Linked DNA regions of Homo sapiens: region 2 is linked to region 1. Evidence: promoter capture Hi-C in human tissues and cell types (Jung and others, 2019). All regions are on one chromosome and are shown on one strand. The core of a region is centred on a gene start or on the middle of the fragment in contact, and the rest is flanking DNA. Distances in the headings are between cores, read along the strand shown. Region 1 holds the start of OR1L1 (olfactory receptor family 1 subfamily L member 1). Region 2 has its middle 11 kb from the start of OR1J1.

Region 1 (5,692 bases), core at 1,642-4,141:
AAGTGGGGACAGAGACAAAGCCATTTCAACTGGTAGTCATCAAGCAAAGTGTCCTGGAAGAGGCTGAATTCGAGCCTTGCAGGTTAGGTTTAATAGATGAAGGAAAGGATAAGCAAAGACACAATAGTCTAAATGGGTGAGGGGCAATGAGTCAGAAGGAATCAGATAACCTTGGATTGCAGTTGTACTGGGATATGGGGAAGTTTAAGTCCTAATTTGAGAATTATATCATACACACAAAGTGAGATGTCCCAAATGACCAGAAATATGGATTGCCATAAAATATAAAATATATGTCCCTAGTGGCTGGAGGGAAGGAGGAATGGAGAATTGGTGTTCAGGGAAAATATATTTTCAGTTATATAAGATGAATAAGTCCTAGAAATCTGCTATGCAACATTTTTCCTATTATTAATGATACTGTGAACTAAAAATTTGTAAACAGGGTAGATCTCATGTTAAGTTTTCTTACCACAATGAAAGAAAAAAGAAAAGAAGAAATAAGAGAGTAGAAGCCTTATCCTTCTCATCCATTCAGCTCATCTGTCAGAATCCCTCCCCCATCACTTCCACCTGCTTAGAGCCATCTCTTTGTAGGAGGAAAACAAACATCACCTTAAATTTCAAGTAGTGAGAGCAGGAGCCATTTCAAATACATGACAATCTGAGTTCTAGAATGGTTCCAGTGAGGATTACTTTCTTACTTTCAAACAGATCCACACAATAAACTAGAGTGGCCAACCACTTCTTTTTTTTTTTTTTTTTTTGAGACGGAGTCTCACTCTGTTGCCCAGGCTGGAGTGCAGTGGCGTGATCTCGGCTCACTGCAAGCTCCACCTCTCAGGTTCATGCCATTCTCCTGCCTCAGCCTCCCGAGTAGCTGGGACTACAGGTGCCCGCCACTATGCCCAGCTAATTTTTTTGTATTTTTTTAATAGAGACGGGGTTTCACCGTGTTAGCCAGGATGGTCTCGATCTCCTGACCTCGTGATCCACCCACCTCGGCCCCCCAAAGTGCTGGGATTACAGGCGTGAGTCACCGCGCCCGGCCCCAACCACTTTTTTTGAAAGTTGCTTTAACAATAAAAATATCGATCTGGTTTGCTTAATGTTTGTGTGTTACAACTGTAATAAAATTAATAGCTAACGCTATATATATATGCCCTGATGGCTTTCCTGAGTGAGAAGCAAGGGTCATACATAAGTAGACTTAAGGATGCTTCAGACAGAAGAGTAAAGATTCCAGGCCTAGGGTCTAAAGTCTTAACCCTATTGCTTATTATATTTTAAAGTTCTAAGAACAGTGTCTAGCAAGGGACTGCTTCTAACACTGGGAGATGGGAAAGTGACTAGTGGCATAAGATGTTCTAGTTGTTTTAGCTTGATGATCAACGAATTCCGAGAAAACGTTCTCCAACCCCACATTCTGTCTTTCAATGTAAGCAGCACAGCGGTGAGGCTCAGGAAGTCTGTCACTTGAGCCAGCCTCACACAGGTGGGGTCTTTTTCACCAAAAGGAGTTAGGTCAGGAGGGTGATTTCTGAGAGAGAGAGAAGGCACTGACACTCCCCAGGCTCCTTGGGGAAGAAACTCCAAAACCGTAATAGTTCTTGGCTTGTTTTCTGCTGTCTTCTCCATCTGAACTCCAGGGACTTCTTGATGATCTCAAAGGATGCTCCCTTGACAGAGGGTGGGGTCTATGAGTGTCTTTAATCTCTTCAGCATGTGGGAGGCCCAGAGGAGGAAGAGAGGAAAATCTTCAGCTTCATGAGGGTTGAAAGCTTGTCTAGAATCAGGTGCCTTCTCTGTGTGGTTTTTTGGGGAAGCATATATATAACTGAGACTGGAATTGGGAAAAGAATTACACCAACACAGACAAGCATGCACTAACAATGACGATTTTAGCATTTAGGGGCTGGATAACAAAAATGAGGTTTATGTTACATTAAAAGAAATGTTGGCCGGGTGCGGTGACTAATGCCTGTAATCCCACCACTTTGGAAGGCCAAGGTGGGCGGATCACTTGAGATCAGGAGTTCGTGACCAGCCTGGCCAACATGGTGAAACCCCATCTCTACTAAAAATACAAAAATTAGCTGGGTGTGGTGGCACAAGCCTGTAATCCCAGCTACTCAGGAGGCTAAGGGGGGAGAATCGCTTGAACCCAGGAGGCAGAGGTTGCAGTGAGCTAAGATTGTGCCACTGCACTCCAGCCTGGGTGACAAAGCAAGACCTTGTCTCAAAAAAAAAAAAATAAGGAAAAGAAATGTTTTTACTATCCTGTTATTTCTGTCTATCTTTTGCCTCTTCATACCTATCCTTTCACTCAAATAAGGTTTCACTAAAAAATGAGGGAAATGGAGTAACTGTTGGGTAATCTCATATTTCAATGTCTTTTTACATGATTGCCAGCCTCCAGAATAACTGATGCAGACAGAAGTATCCGAACTAAGGGAAATCATTATTCCATCAGCTGGAAATTGAGAGATGAAACTTTTTTAAACCTGTCATAAACTAATTACTGAAAACCGTGAATACGATAAATATATACAGAAAAAGAAGAGAATAATTTCTCCAGGATTCCCCTCCTCTCCTTCTGGGAATTCTCTTGCACTCACTCCTTCCTCTTGCCCTATATCTCTTCTTTTCTCTTTTTCCCATTTCTGTTTCCCTGTAATTTGTTTCTTTATAGCAGGCAACTGAGATTAAAATATATATTAATTTCTAAATATCCCACATTAATGGAAAGAAACCACAATCCAGATAATTGTAATGTTTTAAATTTTTTCTTTGCTGATAAGAAGAATAAAAGGAGAAATTTTGGACAGATTGTATCAGATGTTGGAAGAATCTGTTACAGTGTTAGTTTATCTTTAGGTGAACCCACAACTATGGGAAGAAATAACCTAACAAGACCCTCTGAATTCATCCTCCTTGGACTCTCCTCTCGACCTGAGGATCAGAAGCCGCTCTTTGCTGTGTTCCTCCCCATCTACCTTATCACAGTGATAGGAAACCTGCTTATCATCCTGGCCATCCGCTCAGACACTCGTCTCCAGACGCCCATGTACTTCTTTCTAAGCATCCTGTCTTTTGTTGACATTTGCTATGTGACAGTCATTATCCCTAAGATGCTGGTGAACTTCTTATCAGAGACAAAGACCATCTCTTACAGTGAGTGTCTGACCCAGATGTACTTTTTCTTAGCCTTTGGAAACACAGACAGTTACCTGCTAGCAGCCATGGCCATTGACCGCTATGTGGCCATATGTAATCCCTTCCACTACATCACCATTATGAGTCACAGATGCTGTGTCCTGCTTCTGGTTCTCTCCTTCTGCATTCCACATTTTCACTCCCTCCTGCACATTCTTCTGACTAATCAGCTCATCTTCTGTGCCTCAAATGTCATCCATCACTTTTTCTGCGATGATCAACCAGTGCTAAAATTGTCCTGTTCCTCCCATTTTGTCAAAGAAATCACAGTAATGACAGAAGGCTTGGCTGTCATAATGACCCCGTTTTCATGCATCATCATCTCTTATTTAAGAATCCTCATCACTGTTCTGAAGATTCCTTCAGCTGCTGGAAAGCGTAAAGCATTTTCTACCTGTGGCTCTCATCTCACAGTGGTGACCCTGTTTTATGGAAGCATTAGCTATCTCTATTTTCAGCCCCTGTCCAACTATACTGTCAAGGATCAAATAGCAACAATTATCTACACCGTACTGACTCCTATGCTAAATCCATTTATCTATAGTCTGAGGAACAAAGACATGAAGCAGGGTTTGGCAAAGTTGATGCACAGGATGAAATGTCAGTAAAAGACCTAAGGTCTTAAGAGAATACCACAGATCTCTTGCCCTGGACTATAGGTTATTAATGGGTATGTGATTCTGAAATGATTATTAGATTCTGAAAGGATAGTACCTTCAATGATGGTGTTTCATTCCTTACAGAAGAATGTTTATTGCATGTATTGAAGCTACTCCTGAATATAATGCCTACAAACTAAGTTGGATCACTGTAATCTCCTGAGTATCCCTATTCATGCAGCTGGGTTTTCTTGTATAGTAATGTAAAGCTGCTTGAATGTCTTTGAGCTACTCTGTGTGTGTGTGCGTGCGTGTGTGCATGTGTGTGTGTATGTGTGTGTGTGTCGCTTCATCATATTAGCCCAGGGGCTCCTCAATAACGAGGTCTCTCTCTTTCTCCCATTATAAATGTCAGAACTGTGACTCCTTCCTCTGCATTTCCTCAAAGATTAAAGCCTGGCTTCTATAGTTGTCATAGTCTCAACAAATAAAATCATCCCACTAGATAACTCTTAGTGAATCAGTGCCAGGTCAGGTTCCTAAGAGTATGGCATCTCAGTATTCTTCCTGCTTCCCACCTGGCAAAGCTGACTGTACCTTAAATCTCTCATTAATTTCATTTGACCCAAACTCAACTGCACTGTTTTCCCGGGAGGTATGTGTTAGGTCCCAGTAACCTTAGTAGCAGATGCCTCCAACTGCTGGGGCAGTTCTCTTCCTTAACAGACTTTGAAGACAGTCTTCCAACCAGAAAAACAAATTGGGTAGGAAAGAAACACTTTTGCTCATTTGTGAGTTCTGAGAAATATTAGTCACTGCTAGTCCATGAATTATCTTGCAACTCAGAGATTTATGAATTCATTTGCTCTTTCAACAAATTTCTACTTCTGATACACCATGAACCAGCCTACTGGACTTAAAAACAAAGATAATGTACTACATGATTTAAGTCAACAATCTGAAGGCCAAAGATCAGCAGGGTCTAAGGAAACAAAATAACACAGGCAATACAAGTATTTGGAGGGCAATTTCCTGTTAATTGGATTGTTTTAGGTTTGCAAGGTACAGAGAAACACACATACTTTTAAGTAACAGATGTCAAATAAAAATCCAATCTGGTCTTAGGTAAGGAGAGATATTACTGCAAAAGTGGGGAAATGGTCTATAGCAATAATGCAAGGGAGACTATTACACTAGGGAGAATGTCTCAATTGTGAGACCAACAAAAGTGTCAAATGTCAGACAGAAAAGGAATTTTCTTTCATAAAGAGAAGTGAACATGAATGAGGCTAGAAAGAAACAGATATGCAGAAGTGGGATGAGCTAGTAACAGTAGCAGGACTGAAGAGTTGATCAAAGAATGTATTTTATCAGTTGACGCTCCAGAGGGGTCATTAAGGAGGGGTTATGTGTTAACTCAGATTGAGGGTGGGACAAAGTTCATTCTTTTCCAGAACACAAAAGAGTGGAGGGATTTCTTTAACTGTCACTGTTTTCCAGGAGCACAGGGCTCAGGTAAAATTCAACATTGGCACAGGAATTTGCTGTAAGAATTCATGAGGTAAAAAGAAGACATAAATCTCAGCTGTGCAGCCAGATCTCACAGAGGAATAAGAACCAAAGCATAGTTGGGCCCCACAGAGTTGGAAGGTAATTCAGGCTCTGGAAGGCTACTCAGGGGAAAATGCAAGATTCGTGAACGTGTCATTTTGATGCCCTTCCACATGAAGTTCAAACAAGAAGGCCATGGTCATGAGAATCACACAAAAGATAAGAAGCTTCTCTCCAATACCCTCTCCAAATGGGAGAGAAGAGTCAGCTAGAGTGAATTGGAGATTACATGGTGATAAAGTAAACATGGAAACTTCCCAGAGACA
Region 2 (5,692 bases), core at 3,193-5,692, 170 kb before region 1:
GGAGTGCAGTGCAGTGGAACCATCTCGACTCACTGCAACCTCTGCCTCCCGGGTTCAAGCAATTCTCCTGTCTCAGCCTCCCGAGTAGCTGGGATTACAGGTGCCCACTAGCATGCCAGGCCAATTTTTGTATTTTTAGTTGAGAGGGGGTTTCACCATATTGCCAGGCTGGCCTTGAACTCCTGACATCAAGTGATCCACCCACCTTGGCCTCCCAAAGTGCTGGGATTACAGGCATGAACCGCTGTGCCCAGCCAATGTAGGCATTCTGATCCTCACTTTGGAGAGGAGAACACTGGGATTCAGTGATGAAACTTGCCCAGTATTATAGCACTAGTATATTGTGAGCCTGGGAATTGATAGCAGGTCCATCTGGCTTCAAAGACTATATTCTTCCCACTCTATTAAAAGCCCTTATTAAATATATCTTCAAATAGGACAATATTTGCTGCCTGAGAGCACTCAAGAATTTCATGAAGTAAATTGGAGAGTTTAAGGATGAATAAAAATCTATAGTTTCAAGATTTGTGCCATGATGGTGATGTCAGTAATACTGATAATAAAAATTAGAATAGCAATCATTCATTAATCACATATTTATTGTGTGAATAATAATATAGGCCAGCTGCTGTGATGCAATTTATATCATATCAGCCTAACAGGATCACAAAATGGCATTATTCTCATCTAACCAATTGGAAAGTAGGGTTTACAGAGTATAAATAATTTGCCTAAAATTCTACATCATGAAAATGATGGGGAGGTCATTCAATCCTGTGTTTGTCTGATTTCAAACTCATGCTGCTAATCATCATGTCGTATTGCCTCCAGCAGAGCATTGATGGAAAAGACATCTGGATATGCACCTGTCATTAAAGAGGTGGAATCTGTAATTTCTTAAAAGCCTTTGCATAGATGTATTGCTTCAGTCTTTAATCAGATGATCAGAAGAGAATAGAGAAACCAGGAAATCAGTTACTGGATTTACGAAGGCAGCTTCCCAGAAAGTAAATTTCTCGGGGTCCCAGGAAAAAAACAAATAAGACCCTGGCCAGTGTTGTTGTTGATACCTATATTCCATCAGTAAGGGAAAGGTTAAGGCAACTATGGTACACATTATTGAAAAGAATATGTAGTCAATAAAATAAATTCATTAAAAGCTTATGATATAATTTTTAAAGGACATAATAGGAAATTGCATGTAGGTATGTTTATAACTATTTATAAAAATGCAGATTATTATTATTTTTTAAACCTTGAAGAATGTGCTCATAGCTGGGATGCAGGCCAGATATTCAGCAAAACTGTGAGAGAACATTTTCCTAAAGAGGAAAGTACAAACACCAGAGAATAATAATAATGATGTCCACCCTAAATTATTTGATGTAATACAAAAATTATATAAACCACCTGGCACATGTGTACTCATCTGCAAGATTTTGGAGGAGATGATTAACACACACACACACACACACACACACACACACAAACTGCTTAATGGAGTCTGTAAGCATTGGTCTTACCTAGTTCAGTGATAAATTCAAATATTGTCAGCTCCTTGGTATGAACCAATCATTCATTTTCTCTCCAAAAGTCTTAGAGCTGGAACAGTGAGAAAAGTCATGAGCTCAACCCTGAAGTGGAGAAGAGGCACATTCTTTGTTTTTCACCAGCCACAAGGCTACAGCAAGAGTATCTCCCTTTACCTGCCTGGATGGGAACCCAGGGGACTGGTGCCAGAAGTCTGTGGTGAGACACAGTTAGGGGCTAATTACTGTATTTCCCTTAATATTCCCAGTTGAAATGTGCCTTTGCCGGACACCAAGGACAGTCAACTCCTATGGGAATATAAATAAGAACTTTTATTATGTACAGATTTTTTTTATTTATAAAGAACTTTCACATCTATAAGATTTTTTAAGCATCACAATAATATTTGATGTAGATAGTATTTTTCCCATTTATTGAGTTTGACAATGTCTCAAAAGTAAATGGTTAAATGAGTATTCAAACATAAACACATTAACTTCAAACCTAAAGCCTGGTTTCATTCTAGGCTTTCTTCCATGTTGCCTCCCTTATATTAGTGAGCTCTATATTTTAAATAATTCTTTTGGGTTTTTTGTTTGTTTGTTTTGTTTTTGTTTTATTTTTGTTTTGAGACAGTTCTGTTGCCCAGGCTGGAGTGCAGTGGCATGATCTCAGCTCACTGCAACCTCTGCCTCCTGGGTTCAAGTGATTCTCATGCCTCAGCCTCCCAAGTAACTGGAATTACAGGTGTGTGCCACCACGTCCAGCTAATTTTTTGTATTTTTAGTAGAAATGGGGTTTTGCCATGTTGCCCAGGGTGGTCTCAAACTCCTGAGCTCAGGTGATCTGCCCGCCTCAGCCTCCCAGAGTGCCTGGATTATAGGCGTGAGCCACCGCTCCTGGCCTATACAGACTTCCTCCTTCCCACATTCAATTTGGAACTGGAAGGAGAGGTGTTACTAGTCCCTGAGGATTAAGAACACTTTTCAAGGACTAGAGATTTATTTTCCTCATGGGAAACACCTGAATACATGCAGGATTTATTTTTGGTTAGTGATGACACATAATAATAGTTGGAACAGACTCAGGGCTCAAAAAGTATTCTTTGACCATAAAAATGAGTGTGAGAATCTTCAGAAACCTGCTACATTCAGGTTGGCAAAAATATAAAAGAGACGGAGAATTAAGTGGAGGAGATTGCTTTTTTCATTATTTCTTTGAATAATTTGTGCATTCATTTACTCATTCAGAAGAATATTGTATAAATATGATGTGGCAAGAATTTTGTGAGGCACTGTAAGTAAAGAAAACACAAGTTTCTTTTTTTAAAATTTATTATACTCTAAGTTCTGGGGTACATGTGCAGAATGTGCAGGTTTGTTATATAGGTATACACATGTCATGGTGGTTTGCTGCACCCATTACCCATCGTCTACATTAGGTATTTCTCTTAATGCTATCCCTCCCCTAACCCCCCCACCCATTGACAGGCCCTGGTGTGTGATGTTCCCATCTCTGTGTCCATGGGAAAACACAATTTTCTGTCCCCAAAGAGTTCCCAATCCATTGAATGAGATCGACAAAACCGTCCACATCAGACACTGTAATGAAGGTAAGAGCCGAGTGCTGTGGGAACACAAAGGGGGGCATCAAACCCAAATTAAAGGCATCAAGCAAGTGTTCTGTGTGGGAAACTTATGAGGGGAGAAGAAAAGACACACACACCATTCCTTTATTCCATATATAAATATATATATATATATTTACACTCGCCAGACTACGGAGGATTCACCACCAGACTGGAAAGCAACAGCCTGGGTTCCAGAGTCAGATACAAAACTCACCAGACTGTGGAGGATTCACCACCAGACTGGGAAGAAACAGCCTGGGCTCCAGAGTCGGCCACTTGTCCGTGCACAGACAAGGAGAGGTTTCATGAAGCTTCGGTGCTAGGGTCTGGGACCCTAGCTCTTTTTGTAAGAAGTTGTTTTGCATGAGGCCCAGTGACGAGGGCCCTTTGCGACTGGGCTCAAGGAACACAAAAAGATCAACTTGTTTTTGCAATTATCTATTGTTTTTCAATAACCAATGTATAGGAATAGATTGAAATAGAGATTTCTCCGAAACAGTGCTGGATGAATGCCTCAAGGGGCTCACACAACCTGTTCCCGGACTTGGTGACCATTGTTTGTGTCCACGTTCAATTGAGTTCAAATTTAATATTTAACTTTTTCTCCACATTGGGCCTCAATTTGATACTCAGTTGTAGGAAAATACCCTTACAGATACATGGGGAAGGCACAGTTGATAGATTACAGATACATGGTAAGCACAGGAGAATTAAAAACGCAATTAATAAAAACCACACCTACGATAGCTTTGCAAGGAGAGTAATATTGTGAGAATTGTCAGGGATAGACACATAACATTTAGTATGCAGTAAGGCACAAACCCCTCCTTGGGCTGTGGTAAGCATATCTAATGCCTCTCGATTTTGCAACACAACAGTGCACGGCTGAGCAAATTCATCTGATAACATAAGTCCAGTGCTACTATCATTAAGAGCTTTTTCTACATGTAAGCTTAATATTTTAATTTGTTGCTGAAGCAGGATTGTACTGGTGGCAGGGGAGAATACTGTGATAGGGTACCATCATCAGGGAGTCTGGCACATTCATAACCAGTGATGTTTGTAAGCATCTAGATTACTGGGGAGGGAATATTATCCCAGATGGTGAATGGAATTAATGGCCATCCCCAAATGCATCTCCCCATCCAATGTGGGGTGGTGAGTGTAAATATATATATATCTCTTTTCCTTTATCCCCTTCCCATTGCAACTTGCTTATTATATCAATTTGCTTATTATATCATTGGCTTGTTATATCTGCATTGCCATTTACGTGGGATAAAGCTTGTTTACCCTTAAAGGTATTTTGTGTGTGTCTTTTCTTCTCCCCTCATGCGTTTCCCACACAGAACAGCAAGTAGGCTTGTAGAAAGTTACAAGTAAGCAGAAACTCAAGAAAATCAAAACAAGTAGAAGGTGATGTCAACAACATAGAGGCAGAGCAGTGAAAGGGAGAGAAACAGAGGAATAGGAAAAGACCTACAGAAGAGAAAGGATGGCAAATTTAGGAAACAATTGTCAGAAAAATTAGAGTGGCTAAAATGTACACTTGAACAGGGGAAGAGGTTCAGGATGAGTCCAGAGAAACTAGAAGGAATAAATCATGCAGGACCTTAGAAGCCATATTGAAGAATTTGCATATTACTCAAAAGGAAAGAAAGAGCCATGGAAGGACTTGATCAGCAGATTGACAATCATACTAAACACAGTTGGTATAGTTCAGGAGTGGATAATGAGCATGTGTTTGCAGTGGGCAGAGGACATGTTGGCAGAGCAGGCATGGGGTAGTGGAATGCAAGACCAGAAGCAAAGAGACTCATTAGGAGAAGATGACAGTCATTTAGGTAAGAGATTATGAAAGTGTGTATAAGAGAGTGACCATGATGTTAGAACTATATTGATTTAAGTCTCCGTAGTCAGAATCTAATGGATATAGTAATTTTGATGTGAGTTGATTTTGATAAGAATGTAGAAAATAAGGAGAACAAAGGAGTTGAAAACCTCTCTAAATTTATGGCTTGGACAGCTGAGTGTATGGTTGTGCTATTCACTGAAGGCAATATAGAAGAAAAAGATTTGAGAAGTTGTATTGCATAGAGTATGAGGTACCTATAGGTCATCCATGAGACAAATTTAGTAGGCAGGTGGATATATTTTGGATAGAGATAGAAATTCATGGACTGTCAACATAGAGGAGGATGAGATTGCCTGAAAACAAATGAGGTTAGTAAAAGCTGAGGAAAAAGAAGAAGGAGGGGAGAGAAAGGGAGGAGAGAAGAGGAAAGGAGAAGGGAGAAAAGCAAGGAAAGGGAAGGGAATAGTTGCTGAGGACAGACCACAGGGAACATTGACAATTAAGATAGTAGCAGAGAAATAAAGCCCCCAAAAGACATCAAATAACAACCAGAGATGGAGAAGGAGAATATAAAAATGTAGAGCCAAGGTTAAGTGCTGAAACCATTCATTGGATTTAGTAATAATGAGGATTTCGGTGACATGACTAGGAGCAATGCAAATAAAAGGTGGGAATGG

The links. Contacts are between HindIII fragments. The study calls those that stand out against the background at their distance.
Region 2: a contact is called between a fragment that was not itself captured here and the fragment with the promoter of OR1L1 in region 1, in 5 of the 25 tissues and cell types used here (dorsolateral prefrontal cortex, heart right ventricle, mesendoderm cells and 2 more).

The regions. Positions count from the first base shown.
Region 1 is chr9:122,658,825-122,664,516 of GRCh38, forward strand. OR1L1 (olfactory receptor family 1 subfamily L member 1) reads left to right here and starts at 2,892. Exons shown (of 1, transcript NM_001005236.3): 1 at 2,892-3,824. The coding sequence starts at 2,892. The coding sequence ends at 3,824. The HindIII fragment of the contact is 8,013 bases long and covers 1-5,692 here.
Region 2 is chr9:122,486,004-122,491,695 of GRCh38, forward strand. It overlaps a transcript of OR1J2 not described here. Among named protein-coding and RNA genes, the nearest start is that of OR1J1, 11 kb to the left of the region's middle. The HindIII fragment of the contact is 4,254 bases long and covers 2,316-5,692 here.